Regions from separate parts of the Homo sapiens genome. Here all the other regions are linked to region 1. The links are contacts of gene promoters, found by promoter capture Hi-C in human tissues and cell types (Jung and others, 2019). All regions are on one chromosome and are shown on one strand. The core of a region is centred on a gene start or on the middle of the fragment in contact, and the rest is flanking DNA. Distances in the headings are between cores, read along the strand shown.

Region 1 (3,192 bases), core at 387-2,886:
TTTTGATACCCACAGATTTTTTTTCCTCCATTATCTGGATTATTTCCTCAGCATAAGTACCTAGAAGAATTACATAATTAGTGGCATAAGTAATGGGAATTAAATTTTTATTACTTTTGATATGTATCGTAAATTGCATTCCAAAAGCTTTTACTGTGCTACCCCAAATAAATTTTTATAGCAGGATACTGGGTATCCTGCTATAAAATTTTTACAATTTTTATTTTAGATTCAGGAGGTACATACACAGGTTTGTTCCCTGACTATACTGTGTGTTGCTGAGGTTTACTGTGAATGATCCTGTCACCCAGATACTGAGCATAGTGCTGGTATATTTCCCAGTCAAAGATGGTCCTGTTTAAATATTGTTGATTTGGGAAGAGTAAGGTTAAATTTCAAAAAGAGAAGTTCTTGCCTATTTGGAAATACATACTGAAAACATTTAAGATGAAATGAAATGGTCTCAGAGATTTGTTCACAAATAATCTGGAAAGAATAGTGGGGTAGGGTTATAGAGGAAAAAAGATTGGCCTTGTTTTGATAATTTTTAAAGCTGAGTTATGGGTACATGGGAGTTTATTATATTATTGTCTCTACTTCTGTGTATGTTTGAACTTTTCTTATAACAAATAAAAAAGAAAGAAAAAGAAAAACGTGACCCTGTCTAAACCTCTGATGTTTAGTCGTTAGTGCTCTCTGAGGTTTTACATTTCTTCTTGCTGTCACTTTTCTTCACTGTCCAAACAGGGTTTTGCCATCATGCACAGTTTCCTTATCTGGGAGTGTGGAAATAGGGTATAGGTAAAATCAGGAGCTTTTCAGAAGAAAATAACAGCTTCTAACTAGTTCTGAGTCTCCTTTAATTCAAATAAAAATCTGTGGCCTTTAATTAAAACAAAAATTGATCATGATGTGATGATATACTTTCTGATATAAATTCATTTAAAAAATGTTTCTGACCAGAAAGAAGAATATTAAAGTCATTCATCAGCATTTATCAAGTGCTCACTGGTGAAGCCTCTACTGTGTCCCTTGAGGCATTTGAAAACGACAATGTTCCTTGCCCTCAAGACGATAACAGCCTGTTTGGAGACACACAGCAAATGCTCAGAGATATTTAGATACAACATAATTTATGAAGGAGTATAAGTACTATACATTAACCAGTATTAGATTCCACATTCATTCTTTCATAGATAGGTACTGAGTGCCTATATTAATATTAATGACATAGAAGGAAATGTTACTATCCATGTAAACTTCACACATTCACACAGGTATCATTTCATCCTTAATCCTTCTTAGAATTGATGTCTTTACTGCTTCTCTTCCACTCTGACTTAATCAGTCCTAGAAATTGTTAATTTTCTTCCTTCTCTGCTGTCTTCAGAGAAGGCACCAGGAAAGGTTCCTTCCAAATCACAAGGAACATGTCATGGGATCCTCTTATAACAAAGCTGTTTTTTTACTTTATTTTATTTATGGTTAGGATTCAAGACTGACGGGCTAATTCAAATTCCTCCTACTACTGAGAAACAGAGTATTATATCAATACTAATAGAAATATCCACGTTGCTTACCTTGCTGTGTTTCTGAGTTCCGTGGTCCTAGCAGTTGTTTAGGAGTATTGTTAAAGTGCTTTTTCATCTGGTTTCATCTGGATATTTCTGATGGAATGTGATGACTTACAGACTTTGCTAGTCTCTGCTGGGTCCCTCTGCCTGTCTGGTTTATAGGCTATTTCTACATGGCTTGGCCCTCAGAATTCCTTCATTTCCTATTAATAAAAACTTAGTATACAGTATTAAGTTATATAAACTGGAAGACTAATAGTGTGTAAAACTTATTTTTAAATTTCTGTTCTTTAATGGACTTTTTATTGTTGAGAAGCGCTATATAACTGAGCTAATTCAATTTAGTAGAGAAGATGGCTCTTTGATTGCAGCTCTCAGATTTTGGGGTTTTATCTTGTCAACTATTCCAGATACTAAGTTTCTTTTAGCTTCTGTTGCATTTGCACCTCTAACTGTTGCTGATTATTTAAATTCTCAAGATATATAAATGCAGTTACTTGCATCCAATTTTTTTTTCTCTTCTTTCCAGCTAGGAGTTCTCCTCTTTGTCATTCTTTCTCTTCCTGTGTTTGTAAATTGTCTTGACAATATAAAAACCTTAAAGTCCAACTTCACTCTTTTCCCTGAAAGCTCAGATCAGTCTTCCCTGCTGCTTCTTCCCAGCTTCAGTCTTCAGACCCGTTAATTCCTCCACAGCAAAGACACCTGAGTGGCAGGGAAATCACTCAGCCCCAGTGTAACTTAGTGAAAGACAGCAGGCTTTACACTCAGACAGTCCTGGTTTTGTGTACTCCAAGTACCACTTACTAGTCATGTAATCCTAAGAAAGTCACTTAGCCTGAGTTTTCCCATTGGTGTAATATGAGTATTAGTTAATAATTTATGGATTAAATGGGATAGTGTTTATAAAGTAATTGGCATAGTGGCTGATATGTGGCAAAATCTTATGAAACGGTAGCTATTCATATATTAACAACAGTATCTCCTGGTGGAGGGGAGAGGAGAATGGGTGGGTACAGGATACAGAATCAAAATGCCAGACAGGCAGACAGGAAACTTTAAAATCTAAAGATGCTGCCCTGTGATTCTAAAGAAGGGCTAAGTGGGGTCACTTTTCTACTTTTGTCCCAGTGGATCATCTTGCCCTTGATGTATCCAGGGCCCCACCACGTACGGATGTGTGGCCAGTGTATCTGAACTAGGTATGGATGTTAAGTAGGATTTTAATAGATGTTTGGGGAGGATGGTGGTATAGAGGAAATAATACAGATAGAGGGAACACTGAGAGCAAAGGAGCTGAACCAAAAATTGTAGAACATTTTCAGGGAACAAAAACCAACCTGCTGGTGATACAGGGTGTAAGTGGGAGCAGTTAAGGGAAGGTAAGTCATGGAAAATTGAAAATAGTTTGTAGATAGCCTTAGATGTCATGCTAGGAAATTGTATTTCATTCTGTAGATAATAATGAACCATTAAAAAATCCTTTTAATTATGGTGTAATATTTGGAGATTTGGATTTCAGGAAGGGTACATTATGTAAACTTGATTAGTAGGTATGGACAATAAAGCATAAGTTACCAACCCCATTGCCTACAGTATGTGGACAAAATATGTCTGT
Region 2 (3,087 bases), core at 305-2,804, 280 kb after region 1:
AGATATGAAGTGCATAGTGTTCTTGGCACAGGTAATAGCACAGTCAAAAGCAGGCTATTTCACTGGTTATGAAAATAGTTGTGAAAAAATAAACTTTGTAGAAACGATTTTCCACATAGGTCCTAGGTTAACATGTGAATATAGAGTCTTCTATTTATGAAAAAGCAAAAACAAAAGGCCTGGATTTTTTTTGTCTTTGTTTTTGTTTAGAAAGGGTCTTACTCTGTGGTCACCCAGGCTGGAGGGCAGTAGCAAGATCACAGATTACTGCAGCCTTGACTTCCTGCTGAGCTCAAGCCATCTTCCCACCTCAGCCTCCCAGATAGCTGGGACTACTGGTGCACACCACCACACGTGGCTAATTTATTGTGTTTTTTGGTAAAGATGGGATTTGACCATTTTGCCCCGGCTGGTCCTGACCTCTGCATGTTTTAAATTATAAATGACACTGTGAATCCCTGACTATAGCATTGGACAGATATAAGATGTCTTAGAATGGGAGAAAGAGAAAATTTACAGCTAGTCTGCTTGTGCAGAGTTGTGAATTATAAGTAAAAAGTGATTTTAAGACAAGAGTGAGTGGGATGGGAAAGCTGCTGTGCATCATTTCCTCATAGAGAATATTCAGATAGCTAAACACAGTCGGCTTTGATTAAAAAAAACAAAAAACAAAACAACAACAACAATGACAAAAAACAAAAAGAAAGACCCAATGATAACAAAGAAAATTCATACAGAGGATCTTAAAAGAAGCTTATTTCTCTAGAGGTGAAATAATGGAAATGGAAGAGGAGCTATGAACTGGAGTAACCCAGGAATGAGCCCTTGAGGCGGTTTCTTTAGGTTAGAAAGGAGAGTTCATAAGAACCCTGGGATGAATCTCTGGAGAGATTTAAAGGCAGCTGAGCTTGGCTATTGAATGACATGAAACCCTAAAAATACAATAGGGATATCTCTTTCCAGGTCAGGAAATACCAGTGTGCCCCAATCTATTCACAAAGAATGGATAGCTGAAAGTCCTTACTATCAGCTGGTAATAGCAGCAATGAGAGGAAAATACTAGGCTAGGCTGTGTTCTTCAGCCAGAAATGATCCCCTTTTTACCTTCGGATAATAGCAGCAAAGGGAAACACATCTGCCAGCACACTAGGAGTTACACATGGAGCTCCATTTGGTTTGTTTCAATGATTTAAACAAAAGAAAACAAATAGTGCTAGATCGGCATTTTCCTGGAACTAGAACTGCTCTTTCTTGCAGGGAAACCACTGCACATTCTAGGTGGGACTGAACTTTTCCTCCAGCCAGAGGGGTTAGCAGCAAGCATGGTCTTGAGTAACTAGAGTATCCAACCTTCTGGCCACAGTGAATGATTTAAGGATGGGCTTAATACCCACATCAGGACAGTCAAGGTCTGTGAAGGTTTTTTTTCAGTAGAAAATATCATCAAAAACTCTTATCCCCAGGTTGACCAGTAGCTGTTTTTTTTGTTTTGTTTTGTTTTGTTTGTTTTCTATTTTGTGGCCTGAGAAAGAAGAGAAAATCCTGATGTGCTTTAAAAATCCCTGCATCTATTCACGCCTGAAGCCGTTATCTTTGATCTTCCCAGTCATTTAAGCCAGATCGGATAGTTTCTGCCAGCTACGACTGAAAATGTACTGACTAATACATGTTGTGTTTTCTTGTGTGCCACAGAAAAGAGTTTGTCAAAGAAGAGGCAGTACATATTTAGAAGACTCTGTAGTGAAGGGAGAAAATAAAGTATACTCCCTCTTGACTCATGAAGGATGCTCAAGTACCTGAAAATTCTCCTGATAGAAGAGCTTTCCCTGAACGAGTTCAGGACGTTATGTAACAACAATAAGACTGGATGATCAAATATATGTATTTATTAAGTTTGTAAAAATCAAACAAATTTAAAACTGAGTAAAGATATTCTTGTTGATTTTTAAAGCAAGCTTTAGTATAATATTTTACATACAATATCCTATATGCAATGGATATACAATTAATGTATGTATACTATTACTTGCTTGCTGAAAATTTTTAGATTTCTGTGTCCCTTGAACTTCCATAAAGTGGTTGTAATTTTTTTTTTTGCATTATTGCATACTAGTAAGCATTGAATCTAAACCTCTTTCCAAATGTTCATCACTTTCTAGGTTTAATGACTTTGAGTCACTCATCCATGCCTAGATCCAAGATCTCTCCAATTATGCAGAACAATCTGGACACTTGAGATGGAAAAAGCTTCAGATAACCTTTGCAATTATTTCCCCATGTCTTCCCCAATACTGGTTTCAACAATCTTCACTCTTCCCCTGACATCCTCAGACCATAGCTCAAATTACCAAGATTTCTGGGCATGATTGCCCTTCTCATAAGCTCTAGAGTGCTTCTTTGTTTTCTCTCGCTTCTATTTCTATTCTTGTTCTGACATCACTGAGGTTGTTTGGCAGTTTAGCTATCTACGGGCTGCTCGGAGGAGCTGATTTCTTGGGGTGCTGCCTTGAAGGCATCAGAAATTAATATATCTACCTCCTTCCCCTCATGCCTTAGATGCGTTTTGCCTGGTTTACATGAGACTCTCTATAAAAGGAATCTGGACAAATTGATGTCAAGGTTACTTAAAGGGAATCTCTGTTCTGGAATACAAAACATTAAGTTAATTAGGGAGATTTTGGTATTCAGGTGAATGATGGCGGCCTGAGTTCTTTGTACCATTTTAATGAAACAGACATTATTATAAAATTGGTGTCAAGAAGCTTCATTTTAAATTTGGTTTCACCCCGTCTCCAGGAGCTACACAAATTACCCAGGTGCTTTTGTCAAGGCTCTCAAAACTCTAAGAACCTTGAAGAACCTTAGCTCTGGTGCAGTAATGTGAAGATCTGGCATAGCCCTCTGTATGGTGGCAGAAAACTGAAACAATATAGAGCTCATTCCCTTCCCCTTGAAATTCACAGATCCTTCAGAAAATAGATATTTGATATTTGATATATTTGATATAGTTTCTCGTTCTGCCTGTCTCTTTGGCCCTACTGCAGAAATTGTCACACTTTGATGGAAAATAAATTCTTTGAAGATAAA
Region 3 (3,159 bases), core at 560-3,059, 450 kb after region 1:
GTTGGGCCTTTAAAAGAAGAATACACCATGAGGGCTCCTTCCACATAAATGAGACTAAAGTCTTCATAAAAGAGATTTCATGCAGCATTCAGCAGCTTGCCTTTTGGATTTTTGCCATGTGAAGTCATAAGTTTCTCTTTTGCAGGGAATATAGACATCACCAGATAACCAAAACCTCCTGGTACCTTAATCTTGGACTTGTCAGCCTCTACAACTGTGAGAAATAAATTTCTATTCTTTATAGATTACCCAGTCTGTAGTATTCTCTTGTAGCAGCACAAATGGACTAAGATAACAGTCAACTCATCTTTGATAATGGCCCAAGAGTATACAACATGAAAAGGATAGTCTGTTTGATAAGTAGTTTTGGGAAAACTGGATATAAATAATTTGAAAGGGAATACAACACTTTCACGATTCATAGGTAATGTGATTGTAAACATAGAAATCTAGAATAATCTAAATAGATTTTTAAATTAACAAAAGGATTTAGTAGAGTATCTGGATACAACCTAAATATACATATATCAATTGTATTTCTATTAACAGAAACAAATAACTAGGAAAAAAGTATCACTTACAATAGCATTAAACAATCTAAAAATATTAGGAATTCATAAAATATGTGAAAATCTCCATAGAGAAAATTATGATTTTATTGAAGAATATTAAAAAGACCAAAAGTAAAAGGAAGATATGCCATGTTTATGGGAAAAAATATTTTTCAGATGTAAATTTTATCAAAATTAATCTATAAATTTCATAAGATTCTCATAAAAATGAGAAGAGATAAGAACAGGCAAGATCCTCTTGAAGAAGACATATTAGACAAAAAAGTCATCTATCAGATAATAGAATTTGCTTGAAGCTATGGTAATTAAGACAGTGTTTTTTTTTTTAGCACAGAGATAAGGAGCATAGACTAGTGACACAGATCAGGAGTTCAAATACAGGCCTTCACATATATGGACACAAAATGACAGAGACACCATAATGTGCCAATGGGTAATTGGCAAGCTTCAACAAATAGAACTGGGACAGTGAAATGACCACTTGAAAAAAAAATTTAAATGGTATTTCCAGATAGATGAAGAGCCTGAAAGTGAAAGACAAATCTATAAAACTTTAGGAGATAAGAAAATATCTCCATGAAGTAGAGTAGGAGAATATTTCTTAAACAATATACAAAAGTCACTAAGTAAAAAGGAAAAATCAAAAAATTCAAACACATTCAAATTTTTAAAACCCATTCATAAAAACAATATTAATGAGAGTGAAAAGATAAGCCATAGAAAGAGAGGTTATGATTGCAACACATATATCTTGAAAAAAGATCTGGTATACCAGCGAAATCTTACAAATCAAGAATAAATACACCACCACCTAAAAGAAAATGAGTAAATAAGGCTTTAATGGTTTCCTTACAAAAGATGAGATCCAGGCAACCTGTAATGCATTAAACTGTGTCTCTCAAAAATTCACATAGTGAAGTGCTAGCCCCCAATACTGCAGAATGCAATAAAATTTACAAATAGGATTGTTGCTTACGTAATTAGTTAAGACAAGATCACACTGAAGTAAGCTGAGCTCCTAACTCAATATGATCATTGCCTTATAAAAAGAGGAAATATGGACAGAGACACACCAACAGGGAGATTGCCGTGTGGACATCATGGCAGAGATTGGGCTGGTGCATCTGTAAACCAAGAAGCACAAAAGATTTCCAACAAACCACCAGGAGCAAGGCAAGAGGCACAGAAGAGATTCTCACAACCCACAGAAGGAACCAACACTGCTAGCGCCCCAGACTTCCAGCCTCCAGAACTGTGAGACAATAAGTGTCTGTTTAAGCCACCCAGTTTGTGGTCTTTGTTACAGCAGCCCAAGCAAACTAATTTATGGTTAATTAACCTAAGAAAATGTGACCAAGCTAGTAATTAGAAAAATCAAAATAATAATAATCTATTTCTGCACGCCGATCAGATTGGCAATAGTACAAAAATATCAATGAATGGTGAGGATGTAGAGCAATAGAACTATCCTGTCATCTACTACTTTTGACAACCACTTTCCAAACAGTTTGGAACAACTTGATATCATCTGGTAAGTTAAATGTATACATTATTTCTTAATTCAGAAATTCTACTGTCAGGTGTATATCCTAGTGACTAATCAGTGTGTATAATGATTTCTAGTCACCCAGGATACATACACAAACGTGTAATTAGAAGCTAAATGAGAAACAAACTAAATCTATCAATAGCAAAGTAAATAAATAGATCAGTGTATACAGTTGATCCTTGAACAACACAGGTTTGAACTGCATGGGTCCACTTACATAGGAATTTTATTTTTCAGTAAAAACGGTAGGACCTCTGTATGGGCAGGTTCCACATCCACACGTGGATCAAAAATACTGTACAATATTCACAGAATGTGAAACCCTTATATAGGGAGGTATAACTTTTCATATCTGCAGGGCCAACTGTGAGACTTGAGTATGTGCTGATTTTGTTATCCATGGGCAGTCCTGAAACCAATGTCTCATGAATACTGAAGGCCAACTGTATTTCTTGCAGCAATGAAAAAAAAGTAAAGCTACGCACAACAATACGGATGACCATCACAAACAAAATTTTTAAAATATGATACAGATGGTTACATAAGTGTTTGCTTTATGATTATTTGTTAAACCAAATCAGCACATTATTTGTTTTTCTCTAGTTATATTTCACAATTTAAAAATTCTAATCTTTGTTTTCTATTTGGGGAAGTCCCACCCAATGGCTTCAATCTTTAGGTAGAAATTTGTCACTTGCCTACCTCTAAATGCACAGTCCAGAAGAGTAAAAACAGCAACAATGACAAGATTCTGTTTAAGAAAAAAGAAGAAGATAGATATTTGGTAAGGAATTAGTAGTATCTGCTCCCCTTGTGCCAGTCGTTGTTTGACATGCTTGTGCAATTATACTTTTTCTTTTTTATATACTTTTAAGGTATATATTTTTTCATACAAAAATGTGCATAAATGAGGTCTGCTCTAAAACTTGAGGAAGAAATTTTCTACATTCAACTTAGTGCGAATGAGTATGTCAGTGGTTACCTTGATTTACTTCTAAAAAACTGTCATGTGAAAGTATGCATCCTCAAGAACGAATC

The links. The method cuts DNA at HindIII sites, captures the fragments that hold promoters and counts their contacts. A contact is called where the count stands out against the background at its distance.
Region 2: a contact is called between a fragment that was not itself captured here and the fragment with the promoter of SMCO3 in region 1, in 3 of the 25 tissues and cell types used here (aorta, mesenchymal stem cells and ovary).
Region 3: a fragment that was not itself captured here is called in contact with the fragment with the promoter of SMCO3 in region 1 in 2 of the 25 tissues and cell types used here (dorsolateral prefrontal cortex and hippocampus).

The regions. Positions count from the first base shown.
Region 1 is chr12:14,812,546-14,815,737 of GRCh38, forward strand. It overlaps SMCO3 (single-pass membrane protein with coiled-coil domains 3), which reads right to left and starts at 1,637. Exons shown (of 2, transcript NM_001013698.2): 1 at 1,581-1,637. The region is part of intron 1 of C12orf60 (chromosome 12 open reading frame 60); the gene reads left to right. The HindIII fragment of the contact is 14,769 bases long and covers 1-3,192 here.
Region 2 is chr12:15,089,435-15,092,521 of GRCh38, forward strand. No RefSeq gene overlaps it. Among named protein-coding and RNA genes, the nearest start is that of RERG-IT1, 24 kb to the right of the region's middle. The HindIII fragment of the contact is 3,882 bases long and covers 1-3,087 here.
Region 3 is chr12:15,262,417-15,265,575 of GRCh38, forward strand. No RefSeq gene overlaps it. Among named protein-coding and RNA genes, the nearest start is that of RERG, 43 kb to the left of the region's middle. The HindIII fragment of the contact is 7,678 bases long and covers 1-3,159 here.